Linked DNA regions of Homo sapiens: region 1 is linked to region 2. The links are contacts of gene promoters, found by promoter capture Hi-C in blood cells and fetal thymus (Javierre and others, 2016). All regions are on one chromosome and are shown on one strand. The core of a region is centred on a gene start or on the middle of the fragment in contact, and the rest is flanking DNA. Distances in the headings are between cores, read along the strand shown.

The links. Contacts are between HindIII fragments. The CHiCAGO score rates a contact against its expected background, and 5 or more counts as called.
Region 1: a fragment that was not itself captured here is called in contact with the fragment with the promoter of H2AC18 in region 2 in 4 of 17 cell types (M1 macrophages, M0 macrophages, M2 macrophages and 1 more); the score reaches 12.3 in M1 macrophages.

Annotation. Positions count from the first base shown.
Region 1 is chr1:148,766,250-148,772,548 of GRCh38, forward strand. It overlaps the pseudogene SEC22B3P. Among named protein-coding and RNA genes, the nearest start is that of NUDT4B, 21 kb to the left of the region's middle. RefSeq lists enhancers at 5,550-6,109, 6,110-6,299. The HindIII fragment of the contact is 2,490 bases long and covers 3,730-6,219 here.
Region 2 is chr1:149,838,720-149,844,682 of GRCh38, forward strand. It overlaps H2AC18 (H2A clustered histone 18), which reads right to left and starts at 4,031. Exons shown (of 1, transcript NM_003516.3): 1 at 3,499-4,031. The coding sequence starts at 3,979. The coding sequence ends at 3,587. It overlaps H3C14 (H3 clustered histone 14), which reads right to left and starts at 2,489. Exons shown (of 1, transcript NM_021059.3): 1 at 1,968-2,489. The coding sequence starts at 2,438. The coding sequence ends at 2,028. It also overlaps the pseudogene H2BC19P and a transcript of H4C15 not described here. RefSeq lists an enhancer at 1,757-2,330. The HindIII fragment of the contact is 2,631 bases long and covers 2,686-5,316 here.

The DNA of each region.
Region 1 (6,299 bases), core at 3,725-6,224, 1.1 Mb before region 2:
CTGGCTTTGTTTTCTAGCCCCTCAAGGTTAGGAGCCTAGCAGGTGTCTTAAACTGTTTTCTGTTGCGATAATAGAATACCTGAGAGTGGGTAACTTATTAAAAAGAGTTTTATTTAGCACTTGGTTCTGTTGGCTGGGAAATTCAGGATCAGGCAGCTGTATCTGGTGGGTTCTCATGACTGCCTCATGCTGCATCAAAACATCGTAGAGAAACAGAAGGGGACCGAGTTTGTGCAAACAAAAAGCGCAAAATAGAAGAGGCAGCACTGTTTTATAACAACTCACTCTCTTGGGAACTAACCATTCCCAGGAGAACCCAGTCTCAGTGTCAAGAGAAAGATGTTAATCCATCTTAGCAACCTAATTACCTCTTAAAAGCAGCATCTCCCAACACTATTACATTGGCAATTGAACTACAACGTGAGTTTTGGAGGGGCCAAACAACATCCAAACCATAGCAGCAGGTTTAAAGGTAAAAGGATGGGAGAAAAGTACACAGAAAGATATTCTGGAGAAAAGGCACAGAGTGAGCCAAGGCACAAGGTAAAATGTTTGACTGGTTAGAGACGCTAGATTATTTTGTGTGGCTAAGACAAAACAAAGCTGGTGGGGAGTGGCAGGAGGTAAGTCTAGAATGGCACAATGGGGCCAGACTGCGAATGGCAAACTGAAGTATGTGATCTTTTATTCTAAAGAAAATGTAGTATGATTAGCACAAAAAAAAGAAAAATTATTGGCCGGGCGCAGTGGCCCATGCCTGTAATCCCAGCACTTTGGGAGGCCGAGGAGGGTGGATCATGAGGTCAGGAGTTCAAGACGGTGAAACTCCATCTCTACTAAAAACACAAAAATTAGCCAGGAGCTGTGGCAGGTGCCTGTAATCCCAGCTACTCAGTAGGCTGAGGCAGGAGAATCACTTGAACCCGGGAGGTGGAGGTTGCAGTGAGCTGAGATCGCGCCACTGCACTCTAGCCTGGGCGACAGAGCAAGACTAAAAATAAAAATGAAAAAATTATTATCCATGGTATTATCATGGTAGTACTGACTAAAAGAGGGACACGTGTAACAAAATCAGTAAGGAGGGTACTCCAAGAATCCATGTTAAAGTTAATGAGGGCTCGAACCCAAACATAAAGGATGGAAATGATGTAATAAAATACCTTTTGAAAGTTATATTTAAAAATTTTTGGTGAATAGTCTAGTTAGAGGTGAAAGAAGAAAGCAGAGGAGTCTAATGCAATGCGTGACTTGTAGCTCAGGTAAAGGGGTGGCAGGTGACGCTTAAATACTAGAAATATAAGAAGCAGCACAGGTTTGGTTTTATCTGTGAGAACAATGGAGTGGAGGTATGCTTTAGATGCAATTATTTATGGGATATTCAAAACAGATATCTATGAAGCAAAAAACTTGGGCCCAAAAAACAAGTTTGAAGGTATATTTGGGAGTTACCAGTAATATAGGTAACTGTTGAAGCTCTAAATATAGAAGACAAACTAGAGGAGCTTGTTTCTTGAAGAATTCTTGTCACACTTGACATTTTTTACAGAGATTTCTTAAAACAGGGGCATATCTTCTTTGGCTAACATATGCAGACTAAAATGAAAGAGTATAGTATATTATAAAATCAATAAAAGGTAAGATAAATTGAGGCCTAAAAATAAAGAATAAATACACTCAGTTGATTCTGAAGCTCTAATTTACAGATGCAAAATTGTACCAGTACATTAACTCATATGTCAAAACAACATCTAGAGAAACAAAAAATGAAAGTAAAATGGAAAAAGATAAAAGAAGAGAGGCAAGGAGAAGAGAATGGGCAAAAGGAGATAGGAAAAACAGGAATTTTTTTTTAAAGGGCTAAAATTTTAGTGAATCAGATGTGGAAAACAGTTGGATTAACATTGAGATCAAATGAGAAAGGAGCAAATAAGGAAAGATGTATTACAAACCAAGAGTAAAAAAGGGAAAACAAAATAACAAAAGCAAAAACTATTTAAAAAGAATAAAGGAAGACGTGATAATGAAGTAAATTTAAAAAGTACGGAATAATAAAAAGAAATTGCAAAAAATACCTTTTGAAAATAAACATACTAATAACTTGACAATAAAGTGAAATGTGTAAGACAAACATATCTGTGTCATTATTTAGGAGTAGTGAAAAGTACTCTTAAATAATAATTTGGTATCTAGCAGGCCTGGATTTGAATCTACTTTAACTTGCTAGCTATGTGACCTTGGGCAAGCAAAGAAACTCCTCATAACCATTGTAATAATACCACCAAAATGCCTTACACTTACGGCTCAAAAAATGAAGGAAATGAGAGAAAAAAGTATAGATTACTATATGGAAGTCAAATTTCTAGTGACTTTTCTAATCCAAACATGAATTGTTACAGTACTTGAAATAAACTTTATGAGAACTGAGTGACTACATTGCTTCAGATAGTTTTATACTGCTAGGTCAACGCTGCCTGACAGTAATAAGAACAGGATGTGGGATTCAATATGCTCATTCTATCTCAAACTCTGTCACACATACAATGACTGCTATTTACCTTCCTCCTGAGCCATCTGGGAAAAAACCAACCAACCAAACAAACAAACAAAAGAAAAACCCACCAGGTAGGAGTCAGTTAGTTCTGCTAACTAACTAACCAAAAACCTTAATTGTATGGCCACCAGCACCCTAGCCCTTTGTCATGAAAGCTACCAATAAGGTGGAAATTTAAAATATGAAATATTTCATTATACATGTTTTATTAAACCCTACATGTGCAGAAATGATTGTCCATTTTCCTTCTTAACTTGCTTTTGTAAGACTTATTAAGTAGAAAATATAAATCTCAAGCTCCTTAAATGTGATTTTGAGGAACTGAGACCAAAACAATTTTTTGCTGTGGAACCAGATCCTTGAATGCACTACAGGAAAATATTATTTGATATGAAATTTTTTTGGTACACACAATTTTTCAAAAATATATCTCTCTCCACAAAGTTAATTCAAATTGTAGAATTCTTCCAAGTCACAAATGGAGTTTTCAAGGCTCTGGGTACTTACCTTTGAGTTCCACATCCTTTATCTCTGGAGCTCTTAACTGAGGGAACATGGACCATTAGGTCATGAACAGACTTTGTAGTCTTTGAACAGCCTGAAACAGTATGTGATACTTGATGTGCATGTACACAGGAACATTTTTCTAGAGTAATGGCACATACCTTTCATCAGATTTTCAAAGGTTTCTCAAAATGCTCAAGAACCACTGTTAGATATTTAAATAACCAGAGTGTACAGTGTCCAAATATTTCCAAATTTTGACACTTGTAAGATGTCTTAATTAAAACAAGCCATGAAGTTCAGCGTCACAATAACCAGAAAAGCACTTGTGAGAGTAGTTCTATGTCTTTACTTCCTAGTGGTTTACACACTCTTTAACCCATATGGCAATCTGGCTTCTGTCTCCGGTGCTCTGGAATTACTTCTGCCTGTATGATTAAGTTCCTCATTGTTAAATTCGAAAATACATTCTTTGGTATTTATTTGACCTCTTGGTGGTAATATAGTGTAAGAGCACAGACTCTGGAGCCAAACTGCCTAGGTTCAAATCTTAGCTCTATTACTTTCTAACTCTGTGACTTTGGGCAAATGACTTAACTCTCTCATGCCTCAAAGCAGAATCCTTTGTAAGGTTTATTTATATAGTGGTGTAAAGAGTACTTACTTCAAAAGCTTTGGTCAGTGTGAGAAATAAGCTCCTAACAAAGAAAGTGTTATGTAATAGTTATTATCTGGTACCTCTGATCACATCATTTTTGAAAATCACTTGAAATCTGCCTAAGTTTCATTCTGCCTTTGATGGCTCCTTATTTTCATCTCCCTACTTCAGGCTTCCTCCCTAATATATCTTTTATGCCAATATTATGATCACTTGAAACTATAAATCTGATGCCATCCTTGGCCACTACCATTAAGATGGTCTAAACTCCTCAGCATGATAGACAAGTCCCTTTATGATAGTGTACCCATCTAGTTCTCATTCCTCAAGTCTCCTCTGTTGTCTATGCTTACCCTATGGGCTAAGCTGAATCAAGCTGTTACATTTCCAAAACATGCCTCACTGTCTTTATTCATGCCTTTGCACATGCCATTGACTCTTCCTAGAATGCCCCATTCTCCTTCTCTAGAAAGTCTTCTCTTAACATACTTCTTCCCAAAATAAATTAGGTGTCCTTTCTTAATATGCCTCCAATAACCCCATACAGTATTTATCCCATTCTATTTTAGATGCCAGTTTGGTTGATGATACATTTCATCTAGTCAGATCTTCCCACTGCCTCTTATAAAGAAAACCAGGAGCCATATTATGATATTCTTGTTCTCTAATTTTTCTGCTGCCCTGATCTTAAACCACTTTCTTCTCCCTTTGTTGACAATTACCCCACCCCTTATTTCTTAATTAGCTCAACAAGATTAGATAGAAATGTATCTACAAAGGATATATGTATATAAATTAACTAGATAACAAAACTTCACACTGAAGTGAACATTCTACAAGTATTTCTTTCATTGCTGACCATTAGGTTGCAGCATGCAACTCTCAACAATGAGCTGCCCCTCTCCACTCCTATAGAAGCTCCAAATACTATGGTACCACTATGTAGGTTTTCAGCCTTTCAAAGGCTTTTATTATGAACTTCATCATTACTTCAGCAGGAGCCTTTTAGGGACTTAAAAGCACTGATTATCTATAAAAAGTAACTTCATATTTCATGCACAAAATTCCCAATTGGCAGATTTAGGTCCATAAAAGAAAGGAAAAAAATTATTCTAGCTATATAAATTATCAGGAATAAAATAGCATTTCTCCTTGCCTTGTTATAAGGAAATAATATATTTTTCCTTACCAGGAATCAGGATAGTATCTTTGATGATCCCTCAGGGTTATAAAATTGCTTACTGGTTAAAGTTTTTTGCCAAAGATATTAAGAAATAAAAAGTTCGCTCATTTTCCTGTGCAATTTAAAGAAATATTTGCAGTATGTACAGGAATTTTAAGTTATATTGCAGACCCTGGCAATAATATTTAAAAGGCCTATTTTCCCCATTAAAAAATTTACCCCATTAAAAAAGGTAAAAGGAAATCTCCATCATCCCTGAGCAGAAAAGGAAAAAATCATGGGTACTTTAATTAGTTAATAGAAACCACTGTAAATGAGTTATCTATCTCCAGAACATTCTCAGAGAATTTACACGAACTAAAACAGGAATGAAGTGCTCTCAGAGACTTTTTCTCAGGTAAATGTATTTAGTAGTTTGAGTAGTTGATCTGCAGAAACTTTAACTTTAATTAACTACATAGATGAATATTTTTTATTTTGAAATTTGAGAATGTCCTAAGAGGATGTCTACAGGATATGAAACTACTGGGTGCAGGAAAATTTTTTAAGTGTTAGCAAATTGTGGCAAGAGGAAAACAAACAGCGGAGAAAACTGTGGTAGAGAAAGTAAAGAAGGGGCAGGAGAAAGCTGTAATTATAACCTGGGCCTGCCTTTGTTCTCATGAAGCCAGGGGCCTCTCCATATCCTATACTTGCTCTTACACTAATAACAAACCAAATGCTGCAAAATAAAAGTAATAATGACCCAAACTAATTTAAGTCTTTTGTTTAAGGAGTAAATGAGAGAAACATTTTAGCTTCTTAATCAAGGAGTGCTATAATTTCAAGGCATCTTAATATAATTCACTTACCCTAAAGCAATTGTGCAATAAGCAAATTATAAAAGGAAAACAACAAAGGTTAACTTTCTACAGGGGCCAATAGACAAGATCTGTGGAGCACAGCAATTAACCTTCACATACTGGAGTCTTGTTTAAAAGGCCATCAAAAACTCAGATTACTGAAAATCACAAATGTCACCAACAAAAGGAATGTTGATTAGAGTCAAAAAAAAACAAAAAAACAAAAAAACAAAAAAAAAAAAACACCTTCCCAAAGGACTGCCTTCTTTGAAGGAATTTCAGAATGTTGCTAGCACAGGTTGACTAAGTTAAATCTCATTGATGGCTCCATCAGAGAATGAGAATGCCCAGCCAGTGCTGTTTTTAAAATGCACTGGGAGGGAAAAAACGAAATAACAATCTACTATTCCCTAATATATATGGCTTGGCACCCAGAGAAAGCCTCTGCCCCCGAAAGAGACTTTCTACATAGGGTTAAGCTTCATTAAATGAGGTGCAACCTTTCATTTTCAGGACATCTCTTTTCTTGCAAGGTCTTTAGAGGCAGAAGTTCCACTTGGA
Region 2 (5,963 bases), core at 2,781-5,280:
CTAATTTTTTCATTTTTCTTTCTGTCTTTTTTTTTTTTTTTGGTAGAGACACAGGGTCTCGCTATGTTTCCCAAGCTGGTCTGGAACTTTGACTTCAAGCAATCCGCCCGACTTGGCCTCCCAAAGTGCTGGGATTAACAGCTGTGAGCCACAATGCCTAGTCAGAGGAAGAGTATTTCTTTACCCTATCCTTAATTATCCTTTAACTCTCACCTGAGGGTAGACAATGATTTAAGTACAGGGAATGATTAAATGTTAAAACTTAACATTTTAGAATGTTATCTTGTATTGATGAATTCAGCTTATGCTGGTCTCGCAAACAAATACGAAGACTGACAGATTCCTGTGAGTGCAGGCCTTCACAGTGCCAGGACCACAAGATGTAATGAATTCTATTCCTGACTGGATATAAAAAATGCCACGAAATTTTCCTTTTGAGATTCAGCCAGGGAGACCTCCTGGAGTTTAGAGGTACCCAGACTGGTGAGTAAAAGGAGTGTGACCTTGTGGGGGCAGTCAGAGGACCTAGATGTCTGACACCAACATCCCCAGGTTCCAGTCTCTGCTCAGTTACTACTGGGCCTGAGAAGCTGGGTGCAGAGATAGTGACCCACCCACCTCTGAAAGTCACTACTTTTTGAAGTCAGAATACCGCCCATACATTGTGGGCCTAAGCAGGTTACGAGGGTCTCGGCAGAGACCCAGAGGCATGCTCTAGAAATTGCTGTGACCCTGGAGCAGAAACATGTGGCAGTCCCCAGCAGAGCTCACCTACGCTGCTCTCCTCGCTTAACACGCCTCAGGAAAGGCAAAATGGCAGCTTTACAAAACGAAGTTTTATTCCATTTCCCCTTCTCCCCTCTTAATTCTCATAGATCGCTGCAGTGAATGCTTTTAACCTGTCAACTGTGATGAAACAAACAGAAAACCGAAGCCCTGGCTTCTTCTGAGGTGCAAATAAATGACCGAGAAGGTGTTATCTAAGACCTCTACAGCCATTTGTATCTGGCCGTGTGTAGAGTGGGCTCTGCAAGACCCTGCCTCACTTTCCCACTAAGAGGCCTTGGACTTCCCAGCTCCCAGAGACTGTAGAGATCACCTCTGTGGCCTCCTGTCACGATTTCCTAAGGCGAAGAGCTTCATTTGCCCAACGGAGGCCCACGTTCTTCCTGTCTGATCTACTGTCTTCCCAAGGATCTGAACTCGGGCACCAGCGTCTGCCCACATGTCCGACGAAAACAACGTAAAGGAACTACTGAGTCTGGACAGAAAATCCAGACATACCATGCAGCTTCTAAGAGGACCGAGTGCCTTCACTGGAATAGTGAATCTCCTTCTGTGGACATGGACAGGGAACGGCTCGATAAAGCCCAGATTCACAAAATTCCGCCCACACCCCGTGCCCCCGGGAATTTTGGCTTAGGGGCAGGATATGGGGGTTACCACTGTGCTAGTGGAGGTGGCGCGGGGACTGAACGGCAGCCCCAGCGCAGTTCTCCCCACGTTTGTCCGCAGAACCCCGGCGAGGCCGAGGTGGTCATTTCCCTCCCTAGCCGGATGGCCGCGCCGGGTGAGGCCGGTTTGGGCGCGAAGCACGGGCGTGTGGCGCTCCACTTCCGCAAAGGCCAGCCGCGCTCAGGACCGCGAGCCCTGAGCGTCCCCCTAGTGACCCCTGGCCTCGTGCCCGACGCCCCGTCTCTCCTGCCCCGGCCCCCCCGCCACGCAGGGCCCCGGTCACGCGCGGGGGGAGCCGGACCGCCAAAGCCCGCGAGCCGGCGCCCAGGAAAGCGTCCGCAGCCCGGCCAGTGCGGATAGGCCAATTGGCCGAAGTCGGCAAAGCTCAAGACGGCACCGCAGCAGGGGGACCCGACCCCGTTTTGTTGGGAGCCTAAGCGGAAGTGCCTTCCCCGCTCTAATGCCGGAGGAGCACGGAGGGCAAGCGGTACAGCTTCTTCCAAGTGCTGATGTGGGTGGCTCTGAAAAGAGCCTTTTGGATACGATGGAACCTCCGGCCGAACCGCCACTTCTTAAGCCCGCTCTCCACGGATGCGGCGGGCCAGCTGGATGTCCTTGGGCATAATGGTCACGCGCTTGGCGTGGATGGCGCACAGGTTCGTGTCTTCGAACAGCCCCACCAGGTAGGCCTCGCTGGCCTCCTGCAGCGCCATCACGGCCGAGCTCTGGAAGCGCAGGTCCGTCTTAAAGTCCTGCGCGATCTCGCGTACCAGCCGCTGGAAGGGCAGCTTGCGGATCAGCAGCTCCGTGGACTTCTGGTAGCGCCGGATCTCCCGCAGGGCTACGGTGCCGGGCCGGTAGCGGTGCGGCTTCTTCACCCCGCCCGTGGCCGGCGCGCTCTTGCGGGCCGCCTTGGTGGCCAGCTGCTTCCTCGGGGCCTTGCCGCCGGTCGACTTGCGAGCAGTCTGCTTAGTACGGGCCATAGCGAACCAAAACACAGGCTTACCAGCGCAGCGGCGGGGAGAAAAACGAGCTCCTAGCCCCGCCGCAGCCGTCTTTATAAGCACAGTCTTTTCCCGATTGGGCGGAACAATAATTGAAAATCCCGCGCTGGCTGTCCATTGGCTGTGACGTCACCCGTCCTAAAGTCACCGGTTGGCTTGGGCAGATTCCTCCCTAATCCCGCCCACCCCGCCTCACTTTCTACTTACCAGTTGGCGAAGTTTCGCAAGCTTGTTTTTCCCCTTTCCTTCAGGGTGAAAGTCATTTTCCATTGCAGCTTTGTCAGATTGTTCCCTTTCCGCCCTTCGCTTCCTTAGAACACACTGCCCGCAATACCCCCCCTTTCTTGCTGCGCCCTACAGCTCCCGCGTGGAACCTCATTCTTCCATTTGCCCCCCGCCCCCAGTTGCTACTTGGCGGATCGTTTTTCGCCTGTCGGGTGCCTTTTGGGTGGGAGAGGTGCCCGCCCCCAGGACGCAAGATTCCGCCTCCGAGGCCCTTACTCTCCGCCGCCAGGGCGCTTTGGAAAACAAAACAGAAACTAAGACTTAAGTCAGCTCAGTGAAGCCAAGACCCAGCTCCGCCACACTAGCGAGCACTACCCGCTCAGGGCCCTCCCCATCGGGGGTGGGGACGAGGAGCACGTCCCGCTGGTGCCAGACTAGGTCTAAGTGTCCGGCCATAGCCTGCGGAAACCACTAGGGAAGCGCGCGCTCCGCGCGCAACACTTCAGCGCGTTGGGTACTGCCCGCGGCGCTGGTGTTTGTGACTGTGTGGAGCGGACCGTGGCGGCGCCCAGGACGTTTGGTGCCTGCACCTGCCCTGGGAAGTCCTAGGACTGGGGACCCACTCATCGAAGAGCCAAGGCAGTTACGTGCTCCAGATGGAAGACGGCGCGCACACACACACACCCCGCCCCGCCCCGCCCCGTCCCGTCCCGTCCCGTCCCGTCCCGTCCCGTCAGCTCCAGGTTCGCTATTCACTACTGAGGAACGCTGGACTGAGAGTGGCCAGCATTAACAACTCTTTTATTTGAAAACGTGGGTGGCTCTGAAAAGAGCCTTTTGAGTTCACAGGTGCCCCTTCGAGACGCGGGCCGGGCTGGGCCCACTTGGGCCGGACGTCAGCCTCACTTGCCCTTTGCCTTGTGGTGACTCTCCGTCTTCTTAGGGAGCAGTACGGCCTGGATGTTAGGCAAGACGCCGCCCTGGGCGATGGTGACTTTGCCCAGCAGCTTGTTCAGTTCCTCGTCGTTGCGGATGGCCAGCTGGAGGTGACGAGGGATGATGCGCGTCTTCTTGTTGTCCCGAGCCGCGTTGCCCGCCAGCTCCAGGATCTCGGCGGTCAGATACTCGAGGACCGCAGCCATGTAGACGGGCGCGCCGGCCCCCACTCGCTCCGCGTAGTTGCCTTTGCGCAGCAAGCGATGCACTCGCCCTACCGGGAACTGAAGGCCAGCGCGGGACGAGCGCGACTTGGCCTTGGCGCGGGCCTTGCCTCCTTGCTTGCCACGACCAGACATGACAGCGATAGTAGTCACCGAGAGAAACTCCTGCCTGGCGATCGGGAAAGTCGCCGAAAACGCCGCTGCTTCACCTTTTTATAGACAGAACGGCGATTGTCCACGGAGCACTTTGATTGGCTCAAGCAAATTTTGTCCCGATAGCCAATAGGATAGCTCAGCCAGAATCCACTCATTTACATAATCTCGTCTCCCTCGCATTGCGCGCCGCGGAAAACTCGCGAACCATAACGCAGCGTCATGCGCACAGCCTCTGTAAGTACACAGTCGTTTCCGGTAGACCCCGAGCCTACCGCTCTGCTTGCGTTCTCGGGGGTCGGTGTCGGTCTTGGGTCTGGCCATGCCTGAGCCTGCAAAGTTCGCGCCGGCTCCCAAGAAGGGCTCCAAGAAAGCCGTCACCAAAGCCCAGAAGAAAGACGGCAAGAAGCGCAAGCGCAGCCGCAAGGAGAGCTACTCCATCTACGTGTACAAGGTGCTGAAGCGGGTCCACCCCGACACCGGCATCTGGTGCAAGGCCATGGGCATCATGAACTCCTTCCTCAACGACATCTTCGAGCGCATCGCGGGAGAGGCGTCCCGCCTGGCGCACTACAACAAGCGCTCCACCATCACGTCCCGGAGATCCAGACGGCCGTGCGCCTGCTGCTGCCCGGCGAGCTGGCCAAGCACGCCGTGTCCGAGGGCACCAAGGCGGTCACCAAGTACGCCAGCTCCAAGTGAGTCCCTGCCGGGACCTGGCGCTCGCTCGCTCCCTCCCTCCCTCCCTCCGCGGGTCGCCGGCTGCTTTGTCTCCAAAGGCTCTTTTCAGGGCCACTTAACCCCGTTAGTGAAATAAGCTGTTTTCCCACTGCTTACTGTGAGTTCTACTTAGGGGTTTTCCCTCAGCACCTATCCCTTTTCCTGCAGATGATGGGAGAGGAATATAAGATAAAGCTATAAGATGTAGCTTGGTCGAGAACTACCTTGTAGTGACAGGGTCATGTGCACATAATTTGCCTTTTCCAAAGTGAGACGATATGCTACGGGTGCGGTCAATGTAAATCTGCTCAGGAGAGTCAAGGGAAAAAGTGTTAACTGCATATTGAGCTCGCAAAATTGTGTAGTAACCTGAAAATATTCCTAATAGTTTTGCGACCAAGCCTCACCATATAAACTTTCCTTCCGCACCTGTAGACCTCCATTCTGTGGTTGAAGCAATTTTTGGTTTATATAGCTCTCTTGTCTCAATTTGGTATTCCTTTCAGGTACTGTGAGTCTATAGGTATTTATTTCTGGGTTTCAAGACGTTAAATGCCATCAGAATTGAGTAATGCAAAGGCTGCTGTCATGGATAGTAAAGCTTTTTAGTCAAGTGCTGATAGACAATTCCCCATTGTTATCGTTGGGTATTTTACAATTTTCTGGGCAAGAAATGTAATGAAAAATTAAGTAAGTTTTAAAGGCCTTCGTCTTTGAGACTGGATACCTAAAACAATAGTGTTTCCTAAACAGTTAAAACTTATTTAACCCTGAAGCTTTCGAGACACACAAATATATACAAATATATATTGTATATTTCTTAAACCCCACATAGTTCCACTGATCTAAATCACTGGGGGCGAGAGGCAAGGATAGACAATCTATGACACAACACCAGGTGATTCATAAGTTTGGTAACCACTGACATTTGATTATGCAGTTGCCATATTCCTTAGTAAGAACCTGGTCACAATTTTCACTCACTACCCCAGGCAATTCCCCCTCCCCACACCCCCCTTTTTTCTGAGAATTTCAGTGAGATATACAAAAGTTTCATTTAATCCTTTATTAATTCCAGACTTTATATATTTTTATTAGGATTTAAAATACATTTCAAAAAGATCAAGTGAGAACAGAAGATAAAAGTACCAAGATAAAGGCATAATACAAACTTAGAAAATACATGTTAAGCATACTGCGGCGTCCTGGTAGCCCCTTGCTTTTGTTCACTTTTTTCTCTTATGTA